4 separate regions of the Homo sapiens genome follow, and regions 2, 3 and 4 are each linked to region 1. Evidence: promoter capture Hi-C in human tissues and cell types (Jung and others, 2019). All regions are on one chromosome and are shown on one strand. Each heading gives the region's core, a stretch centred on a gene start or on the middle of the fragment in contact. The rest is flanking DNA. Distances are from core to core; before and after follow the strand shown. Region 1 holds the start of LRRTM3 (leucine rich repeat transmembrane neuronal 3). Region 2 overlaps CTNNA3 (catenin alpha 3). Region 3 overlaps CTNNA3 (catenin alpha 3). Region 4 overlaps CTNNA3 (catenin alpha 3).

Region 1 (2,700 bases), core at 168-2,667:
ATGCTCACTAAAGTTGTTCTTTGTGAGTTAATGAAGGTCAGTATAGTCAATATTCAGTACGTAATCCTAGCAAGTACAAATAAAGTTAATATTATTCAAATATCTTACACAGGCTTATTGCATGCAACACACTGTTCTAAGTAACATACAGATATTAAAATGACTTAATTCTCAAAACATGAAGTGAGTTTTTGTTTTTATGCCCGTTTTGCAGATGAGAAAACTGAGGCATAGGGAAGGTAAGTAACGCGCTTAAGGTTACATAGCTGGTAAATTGTAGCCAGGAGTTGGAATCTAGGTGCCAAAATCTATGCTGTTAATCACTAAACTACGCTGCCTTAGTTTTTATACTTCTTTAGGAACCTCAGACCAAAAGAAATTTAGGCAATTCTAATAGAACAAGCAAGAATTTGCTAATCACAGCTTCCTTGCCCCAATCCTTTAATCGGCTTCATTTTCACTGACTTCTTTTTTAAATGAAGATAACAATGTTGTTGAACAGGATCATCTAGTGGTTAGTGGTTCGGCATAAGAATGACTCGCTTCTGAAGCTCAGCTCTAGCACTCGCTTGCTGTATGACCTTGAGAAAGTTACCTCCCCAAGTCTGTTTCCTCATCTTTAAAAGAGAGGTTATAATAGGACCCACATCATACTATTGTTTAAAGAGAAAACAACGTAGCCCATTTAAAGCACTTAGAAAGTGCTCCATAAATATTATTAGTGTAATAAATAGCAGCAACATCAATAAAGTATGAACCAAATGATCTCTTGATTCGTATCCTAACACTAAAAATGGTTTATTTCCCTTCTAATTAAAAGAGAATTACAACAACCAAAACAACAAACGAAACTATAGCCATAAAATCAATTATATCGTCTGTGAGAAAACCGGAAAGGCTATTGGACACATTAATTCACTTGTCATCAGTCATCCCCTCTATTCCAAAATGTTTGTGTTCTAACATCCTGAGACACCTTGCATAATATAATCACTGTGACTCCAAGAGGTCAAATGGGCAGGCAGTTAATGCTTCTCTGTGAAAAGCTCAATAATTCATTTTATAAATTTCAGTTTAAAGCCTGCGTTGAGGTTAAGAAAAATTGACGTTCGGTCTGTGAACTTAATGTCAAGCTCCAGAAAAACTCTGGGCAGCACATGTTTAGCAATTAAGTGGACACAGACAATAAAGACGTTGCCAAATTGTAAAACAAGACTTGGAAATCACAGAAAATGTTGCTAGTTATTGATCACGGTGACCATTCAGTTCCTACTGAGCCACCCAAAAGAATCATTCATTTTCCAGCAGAGAGCCTGCTCATTTGCAAGATAAAAGAGAGACATTTCTGCACATGCCCATAATGTTCTTCACCACTGGGGGCAGCTTTACATAAGACTGCATTCACTGAAACCAAAGCAACAGTCCGAGCAGCTTTCAGAATGACAGTCTGCAGAAGTGAGCTGAGCGTGTGCGCGGTACGGGGCTCTCCTGCCTTCTGGGCTCCAACGCAGCTCTGTGGCTGAACTGGGTGCTCATCACGGGAACTGCTGGGGTATGGAATACAGATGTGGCAGCTCAGGTAGCCCCAAATTGCCTGGAAGAATACATCATGTTTTTCGATAAGAAGAAATTGTAGGATCCAGTTTTTTTTTTAACCGCCCCCTCCCCACCCCCCAAAAAACTGTAAAGATGCAAAAACGTAATATCCATGAAGATCCTATTACCTAGGAAGATTTTGATGTTTTGCTGCGAATGCGGTGTTGGGATTTATTTGTTCTTGGAGTGTTCTGCGTGGCTGGCAAAGAATAATGTTCCAAAATCGGTCCATCTCCCAAGGGGTCCAATTTTTCTTCCTGGGTGTCAGCGAGCCCTGACTCACTACAGTGCAGCTGACAGGGGCTGTCATGCAACTGGCCCCTAAGCCAAAGCAAAAGACCTAAGGACGACCTTTGAACAATACAAAGGATGGGTATGTTTTGTCATTTTTCTTCTTTCCTTCTTAAAAACAAAAAACAAAAAACCTCTAGTGTGTGTAATAATTCTGCCTTAATTATTTTAGAGATTACCTTGCTCTGCTCTAAGACTATGAATTTATTTGCTTAGTGGCATGTTTCCTTGTTTAACTATTTAAAAAAACAAAACACTAAAGACAATTCTCTTTAATTACAAAGAGATAATATGTGATGTTAAGTGTTATTTAGATTTAAATTTTTAAAAATGAAAAATATATGCCTATTTTTGCTTGATTAAGGATTAATTCTTTTTTGGGGGGATAACTTTTCTAAGTTGTTTTTATTTCCAGGTTTCAATGTAATTAGGCTACTGAGCGGATCAGCTGTAGCACTGGTTATAGCCCCCACTGTCTTACTGACAATGCTTTCTTCTGCCGAACGAGGATGCCCTAAGGGCTGTAGGTGTGAAGGCAAAATGGTATATTGTGAATCTCAGAAATTACAGGAGATACCCTCAAGTATATCTGCTGGTTGCTTAGGTTTGTCCCTTCGCTATAACAGCCTTCAAAAACTTAAGTATAATCAATTTAAAGGGCTCAACCAGCTCACCTGGCTATACCTTGACCATAACCATATCAGCAATATTGACGAAAATGCTTTTAATGGAATACGCAGACTCAAAGAGCTGATTCTTAGTTCCAATAGAATCTCCTATTTTCTTAACAATACCTTCAGACCTGTGACAAAT
Region 2 (2,700 bases), core at 114-2,613, 300 kb before region 1:
TTGACATCAGTTGGGAGATCTCAGCTGCAGGTCCTCTAGATCCCACTTTTCCAGCTTGTTCTTACTTGTTAATCAACATTAAGTCCAAAGAAGCAGTTTCCTTCACAGTTTCCTTAATATTCTTAGAGATGAAATTGTCAGCAAGGCAAATCAATAATTTAACACATGCCCTACTTTTTGTAGACTGAGAATCTCAGGAGACGTCCAGAGACTTAAAGTCCCTAATCTTTGTTATTTTTCTCATCCTTATAACATTTGTGGTCTTTATTAGGAAGTATCCGTATTATATCCTGCTTCTTCTCAGATAAGAGTGTTTAAAATTTCTCTATGTGTATCTTGATTCATGGCTTCAAAACCATTTGTCATGTAGAAATAATTCCCTAAAAGTGTGTCACTCTTCAGATTTTAAGAAACATCTGAATTACCGACAAGAAAATATTTCTTAACTTTTTTCAAACCGATACCTTCTTTGATAAAAGAAAAAAAGAGTCAATTCTTTCAGCTGATTTGAAATTTCAAAATAAATAATTACTAAAAATAAATCAAATCATTTGGACAAAGCACCTTTGCCTCAGGAGATTCCAATATGGCCACTTAAAGAATGTCAGTCTTTTTCTCTACTCTCTTTTTAAGAATCGCCTTAGGACAATTCTGTCTTCCATGCTTCAAATAAACATTTTGGCTGGGCACGGTGGCTCACGCCTGTAATCCCAACAGTTTGGGAGGCCGAGGTGGGCAGATCACTTGAGGTCAGGAGTTCGAGACCAGCCTGGCCAACATGGTGAAACCCCATCTCTATTAAAAATACAGAAATTAGCCAGGCATGGTGGCGCATGCCTGTAATCCCAGCTACTCAGGAAGCAGAAGTTGCAGTCAGTCGAGATTGCGCCACTGCATTCCAGCCTGGGCAACAGAGCGAGACCTGGTCTCAAAAAAAAAAAAAGAAAAAAAAATAGTGTATTTTCATATGCATAAAAGCATTAGGAATTATATATAATTTTACACACAAAAAGTAACTTAGTTGTCATACCTGTGGACACAAGGTTTCCAAATGATTGGCTGCAATTTTGACAATTTTAATTCCATCTTCATTTGTTGACATGGAACAAGCAAGATTTGCCACCTTAAATACAATCCAAAATAATGGAAATTATTTTAGATTAGCAAGGAAATGCAGCAACACTTATACTGAACAAGAACATGTACACATTCATCAAGAATCTCAATGACAAATAACATTCTCAAAATCATCACTGGTATCTATTTTATGAAAGAATTCAGAGAATCTATTAAAGCAAATAACAATAAAAGGACCTAGATAATTGTTTAAAATGAGGAGAGACTAGTGAGAGAATCAGTAAACCCTATACAGTCTCTTGGTATCAACATCTAACCCATAATAAGAAGCTATTGTGAGACTGGAAAAACAAAAGTTTATCTGTGGATTGAATGCTAATAGGTTTTTGGAATCTCATATGATTGTGATTTATTTTAAATTTGTAATTGGTTTATTATTTCCCAGAGGTCTATTACTCATATTTAAGTTGCATTAAGTATGACTGTATCTTTATACATTTTGTTTGCATCAAATATACTACAAAGCTGAACAAATACAAGATAATTAACTTCTTCCTGCTCTTGATTTTCCACTACAACTTCATGGGCACTGTTTGACATTCCTGCAGTGCATTTGATTCAAGCATTAGTGACACCCAAATTTCTCTTATATTATTGCTTTTGAAATTTACATTTTCTTCCAACAAAATGAGTGCTGTTTTAATTACCATTATGTCCATGACCTAAATCCAAGGTTTACAAATACTTTCTTCAGACCATGAAAGAGCCATGATGAAGAGTGAGAGGTTATTTTCCCTTCCTCTGCACCCCACTCTTGTTCAAGATTCTTCTTACTAACACAGTAAGGCTTATGGACAGAGGCAATGTTTTCTCTGATCTACAAAATATCTCATTGTCTTTATCATTGCAAGGATTTACTTTATCTAACAGTAATTTTTCTAACTTTTAAAATATCTCTGTCAGTTGTTTTATACTTTAACGCATTGCAGTTTTTCCTGCTAAGATCTAAAATACATCCAGTTGCGGAGAAACTACGCATTAGCCACATGCAGTGGAAATAAACAACATATGACTTTGGATCACTATTTTAAAAGTACCACAAAATGTTATTTAAATGGATTTACAGTCTTTGCTTTTTTATAACATTTCTTTTAATATGCCAATAGTGAAATAACTCCTCGGTTTTCATTCACATATAATGAAATAACAGCCATACATTATTTAACTGTGGAAGGGCATTGCTCACTTTATTAATGTACATGGGGATGGCTTACTTGAAAAGGTCTTTTGTTGGCTTGAAGGTCACAATGCCTCAACTTTCATAATTTCTGACACATAATTAGCACATTTGTGAGTTGTTTGAAAAGGGCAACAGTTTCTGTGCCCCTTTCCACTCCCCAAACCCCAATCACTAAAAGTGAAACTTGACAGTCTAATTGCTTTAATTTGTATTATATTAATTCACACTGCATTTGCAAAAAATACTGACCTGTAAAATTGAGCACTGTTTGTTTAAAGTAAAAAAATAAAAATAAAAATAAAAATCATTGGCTCAATGTGGTCAAATTAGAAGAATGCTGGTTAACCCAAAGCTTAGAAATTATAAAAAACTGGCCCTATGTA
Region 3 (2,700 bases), core at 143-2,642, 340 kb before region 1:
CATCTCCGAGAATTTCTTGATTTCTCCTTTATTTCTGAAGAGTATTTATTACTGGATATAGGATCCTGAGTTGACAAAATTTTTTCTTTCAGCACTTCAAAACTATTGTAATTTTTGCTGGCTTCCCTGGTTTCCGATGAGAGATCCAGTGTCATCTGAACGTTCTTTTTTCCACAGAGAATGTGATATTTATTTCTGACTGCTTTAAACATTTGTCTTTAATTTTCAGAAGTTTGTCTATGGTGTGATTTCATGTGGATTTCTTTGGGCTTATCATGTTTGGGGTTTGCATTATAGTCCCATACATTTCTGAGGTTGTGTTTTGTTTTTGTTTTCTTTAAAGTCTATTTTGTCCCTGTTGTTTACATTGTGTAATTTCTATTTGTATTATTTTTCAATGGACTGGTTCTTTTCTCTGTCTCCTCTGTTCAGCTATTGAGCCCATATGTTGACTTTTTAAATTATTATTTTATTGGTTAATATTTTTAGTTCTAACATTTCTATTTCATTCTTCTTTGATTTCTTTGCTGTAACATTCTATTTTTTTATTCTCCTTTGGTGACATTCTTCCCCTTTGCTTATTTTTATTTTTAATTTTTATGGCTACATAATTGTACATATTAATGGGGTACATGTGCTATCTTGATATGAGCATACAATGTATAATAAAATCTAGGTAATTTGAATATCGATTATCTCAAACATTTATCATTTCTTTGTGTTGGGAACATTCCAAATCTTCTCTTCAACCAATTTTGAAATAGGTGATATTTTTTCATTTGTTCAAGGATGTTTATGATTGTTCATTCATTTTTATGATGGCTACTTTGAAATCTTTGTAAGATAATTCTAACATCGCTGTCATCTATTAAATGTATTTTTTTATTCAGCTTGAGATCTTCCTGGTTCTTGATATGACAAGTGATGTTTGAATGAGATGGAGACATTTTGGTTATTATGTTAAAAGACTATGGATCATATTTAAAATTCTGGATCACATTTCTGCTTTAGTTGGCTTCTTCTGAAACTGCTTTGGCAGAGGAAGAAGAGGGTTGCCTCATTACTGCCTGGTGAGGGTAATCTTTAGGGGTAAAAGTGGTTCTCAGTTACATGGATGAATTGTATAATGGTGAAGTCTAGGATATTAGTGCATGCATTATCTGAATAGTGCATATTGTACTCAATAGGTAGTTTTTCATTTTTACCCCCTCACCCCTTTTAAGTCTTCGATGTCTATTATACCACTTGGTATGCCTTTGCATACCCATAGCTTAGCTCCCACTTATAAGAGAGAACCTTCAGTATCTCGTTTTCAATTCCTGAGTTACTTCACTTAGAATAATGGCCTCTAGTTCCAACCAAGTTGCCACAAAATACATTATTCCATTCTTTTTATGGCTGAGTAGTATTCCATGATAACATACATCACATTTTCTTTATCCACTCATCAGTTAATGGACATTTAGGTTGACTGCATATCTTTGCAATTGTGAATTGTGCTGCAATAAACATATGCACACAGGCATCTCTTTGATATATTCATTCCTTTTCTTTTGGGTAGATACCCAGTAGTGAGATTCCTGGATCAAATGGTAGATCTACTTTTAGCTTTGAGAAATCTCCATACTCTTTTCCATAGAGGTTGTACTAATGTGTATTTCCACCAGCAGCATATAAGTGTTCCTCTTTCACCACGTCCACCCGAGCATCTTTTGGGGATTTTTTTTTTTGACTTTTTAATAATGGTTATTCTGGCTCGGGTAAGGTGGTATACATTGTGGTTTTAATTTGCATTTCCTTGACAATTAGTGATGTTGAGCATTTATTCATATGTTTTTGACCATTTGTATATTTTTTGAGAAATATCTATTCATGTCTTTTGTCCACATTTCAGTTTTTAAGTTGTCTGTTTACTGTAATGATTATTTATTTTGCTGTGAAGAAGCTTTTTAGTTTGAGTCCTATTCATTATTTTTGTTTTGTTGGATTTGCTTTTAGGGGTCTTAGTTATAAATTATTTGCCTATGCTGGTGTCCAGAAGAGTTTTTCCTAGGTACTCTTCTAGATCTTTTATGGTTTCAGGTCTTAGCTTCAGGTCTTTAGGTCTTTAGTCAAGGTAAAGTTAATTTTTGTATCTAGTGAGAGACAGAGATCCACTGTCTTTCTTCTACATGTGACTATGCAATTTTTCTAGCACCCTTTATTGAACAGAATGTCCTTTCCCCGATTTATGTTTTTGTATGTTTTATCAAAGATCAGTTGGTTTTAAGTATTTGGCTTTATTTCTGAGATCTCTATTATATTCCATTGATCTACTTTTATACCAGTACCATGCTGATTTGGTTACGTTAGCCTTGTAGTAAAATTTCAAGTTAGGTAATGTGATGCCTCCAGATTTGTTCTTTTCGTTTAGGTTGCTTTGACTATTTGGGCTATTTTTTGGTTCCATGTGAATTTTAGGATTGATTTTTCTAATTCTGTAAAAAATAGTGTTGGTAATTTGATAGAAATTGCATTGAATCTGTAGATTGCTTTGGAGTGTATGGTCATTTTCATGATATTGATTGTTCTAACCCATGAGCAAAGAATGTATTTCCATTTGCTTTTGTCATCTACAATTTCTTTCAGCCGTGTTTTATTTTTCTTGTAGAGATACTACACCTCCTTGGTTAAGTATGTTCTAGCATATTTTATCTTTTT
Region 4 (2,700 bases), core at 196-2,695, 410 kb before region 1:
GTAGACATCTTTCACCTTGGTTAAATTTATTTCTAAGTGTCTTTTTTTGTAGCTACTGCAAGTAGGATTGCATTTTTAAATTCTTTTTCACCTAGTTCATTACTGGTATATAAAATACTAATTATTTTTGTATGTTGATTTTTTTTATCCTGAAATTTTAATGAATTCATTTGCCAGTTTTAAGAGTATTTTGGCAGAGTCATTACATTTTTCTATTTATGAGAACATGTTGTTTGCAAAGAGGGACAATTTGACTTCCTCTTTTCCAATGTGGATGGCAATTTCTTACTTTCTTTTTCCTAATTGTTATGTGCTAGGACTTCTAGTACTATGTTGAATAAGAGTAGTGAAAGTGAGCATCCTTGTCTTCTTCCAGTTCTTAGAGAAAAAGCTTCCAGTATTTCTTCATTCAGTATAATGTTAGCCATGGGTTTGTCATATATGGTCTTTATTGTGTTGAGGTATATTCCCTCTATGCCTAATTTGTTAAGAATTTTTTATCATAAAGGGATGATGAATTTTATTAAAAGATTTTTCTGTCTATTGAGATAATATGTTTTTAAAATTTTATATTGTTAATGTGATGCATTACATTTATTGATTTGCATATATTGAACTATCCTTGTATCCTTGGAATAAATTCTACTTGATTAGGTTCATTATGTTTTTGACGTGCTGTTGGGTTCTATTTTCTAGTATTTGGTTGAGGGTGTTTAAATCTATCTTCATCAGACATATTGGCCCATAGTTTTCTTTTTTTGTTGTGCCCTTGTCTGGTTTTATTATCAGGGTAATGCTAGCTTCACAGAATTAATTAGGAAGAATTTCTTAATCCTCAATTTTTTGGAATAGTTTGAGAAAAAATGGTGTTAGTTATTTAAAAGTTTGCTAGAATTCATTAGTGAATCCATCTGGTCTTGGACTTTTCTTTTTTGAGAGACTTTTTGTTACTGATTTAATCTTCTTATTTGTTATTGGTCTGTTTGATTCTGTTCATTTTTGGTTCAATCTTGGTATTTTATACTTGTGTCTAGGAATGTATCCATTTCCTTTATGTTTTTTAATTTGTTGGTGTATAGTTGTTCCTAACAGTCTCTAATGATCCTCTGTATTTTTGTGGTGTCAGTTGTAATATCTCATTGTTCATTTCTGATATTATTTATTTAGGTCTTTTTCTTAATCTATATAATAGTTTGTTGATTTGGTTTACTTTTCAAAAACTAACTTTTTTCATGAATCTTTTGTTTGCTTTTTTGCCTCTAATTTGTTTCATTCTGTGCTGATCTTTATTATTTATTTTCCTCTATTAACTTTGGGTTTGGCGTGTTCTTGCTTTTCTATTTTTTGAGGTGTATCACTAGGTTATTTGAAATCTTTTTTTTTTTATATAGGTGCTTATTCCTTTAAACTTCCCTCTTGTACTATTTTTTCTGTGTTCCATAGGTTTTTTGGTATGTCTTGTTTCTGTTTTCATTTCTTTCAAGAAGTATTTAAAATTTCCTTCTTAATTTCTTCATTAACTCATTTGTCATTCAGGAGAATGTTGTTTAATTTTTATGTATTTTTACAGTTTCCAGTGTTCCTCTTGTTATTGATTTCTAATTATAATCCACTGAAACCTGAGAATACATGGTATAATTGCATTTTTGAAAAAATTATTTAGAGTTGTTTTGGGCCTAACATAGGGTCTACCCTAGAGAATGTTCCATCTGCTGATGAGAAGAATGTACATTTTGTAGCCATTGGAAAAAATGTTCTGTAAATGTCTATTAGGTTCATTTGGTATAAAATGAAGCTTAAGTACAATGTTTCTTTGTTGACTTTCTGTATAGATTAGCTGTGCAATGCTGAGGGTGAGGAGGGTGAGGTGTTAAAGTTCTCAACTATTATTACATTGGTGTCTCTATCTCTCTCTTTAACTATAATAATATTTGCCCTATATATCTGAGTGCTCTGGTGTTCGGTGGATATATATTAACAATTGTTCTTTCCTCTTGCTGAATTGATTTTTTAATCACTATATAATGACCTCTGTGTCTTTTTATCTTTTTATTTTTAATAAAAGTCTATTTTGTCTGATATAAGTTTGCTACTTTTGCACACTTTTTGTTTGCATTTGCAGCAAATATCTTGTTTAATCTGTTCTGTTATAGTCTATGTGTGTTTTTAAATGAGAAGTGAGTTTCACAAGCAGCAAATAGTTGGGTCTCAGTTTTTTAATTCAGCCAGTTTATATATTTCAATTAGGGAATTTAAACGGTTTACATTTAAGGTTGTTATTGATAAGATGAGGATTTATTCTTGTCATTTTGTTAGTTGTTTTGTAATTGCTCTGTATAGCCTTAGTTCCTTTCTTCTTTTATTATTTTTGTGGTTTGGTGGTTTTCTGTAGTGATAAAATTTTATTCCTTTCTTTTTCTCATTTGCATATCTGCTTTACCAGTGAATTGTATACTTTCATGTTTTTCCTTAATTGATAGGTAACATCTACCAATGATATAGACACATATCTGCTTTTGCTTAATTGATAGATAACATCCTTTCGCTTTCAGAGGTTGGAGTCCCTTAAGCATTTCTTGTAGGTTCAGTTTAACAGTGATTAATTCCCTCAGTCTTTGTATGTCTGGGAAAATTTTATGTCTCCTTCATTTCTAAAGAATAGCTTTATGGTTTATAGTATTCTTAGTTGAAAGTTTTTTC

What was found. The method cuts DNA at HindIII sites, captures the fragments that hold promoters and counts their contacts. A contact is called where the count stands out against the background at its distance.
Region 2: a fragment that was not itself captured here is called in contact with the fragment with the promoter of LRRTM3 in region 1 in 2 of the 25 tissues and cell types used here (heart left ventricle and mesendoderm cells).
Region 3: a contact is called between a fragment that was not itself captured here and the fragment with the promoter of LRRTM3 in region 1, in 1 of the 25 tissues and cell types used here (hippocampus).
Region 4: a contact is called between a fragment that was not itself captured here and the fragment with the promoter of LRRTM3 in region 1, in 2 of the 25 tissues and cell types used here (H1 embryonic stem cells and heart left ventricle).

Annotation. Positions count from the first base shown.
Region 1 is chr10:66,924,619-66,927,318 of GRCh38, forward strand. LRRTM3 (leucine rich repeat transmembrane neuronal 3) reads left to right here and starts at 1,418. Exons shown (of 3, transcript NM_178011.5): 1 at 1,418-1,969; 2 at 2,303-2,700. The coding sequence starts at 1,966. The region is part of intron 7 of CTNNA3 (catenin alpha 3); the gene reads right to left. All of the region lies in intron 3 of LOC101928961 (a long non-coding RNA gene), which reads right to left. RefSeq lists an enhancer at 805-1,661 and a silencer at 1,281-1,390. The HindIII fragment of the contact is 13,899 bases long and covers 1-2,700 here.
Region 2 is chr10:66,620,662-66,623,361 of GRCh38, forward strand. CTNNA3 (catenin alpha 3) reads right to left here. Exons shown (of 18, transcript NM_013266.4): 10 at 1,031-1,123. Among named protein-coding and RNA genes, the nearest start is that of LRRTM3, 300 kb to the right of the region's middle. The HindIII fragment of the contact is 3,367 bases long and covers 1-2,700 here.
Region 3 is chr10:66,579,695-66,582,394 of GRCh38, forward strand. All of the region lies in intron 10 of CTNNA3 (catenin alpha 3), which reads right to left. Among named protein-coding and RNA genes, the nearest start is that of LRRTM3, 340 kb to the right of the region's middle. The HindIII fragment of the contact is 4,956 bases long and covers 1-2,700 here.
Region 4 is chr10:66,510,099-66,512,798 of GRCh38, forward strand. The region is part of intron 11 of CTNNA3 (catenin alpha 3); the gene reads right to left. Among named protein-coding and RNA genes, the nearest start is that of LRRTM3, 410 kb to the right of the region's middle. The HindIII fragment of the contact is 5,099 bases long and covers 1-2,700 here.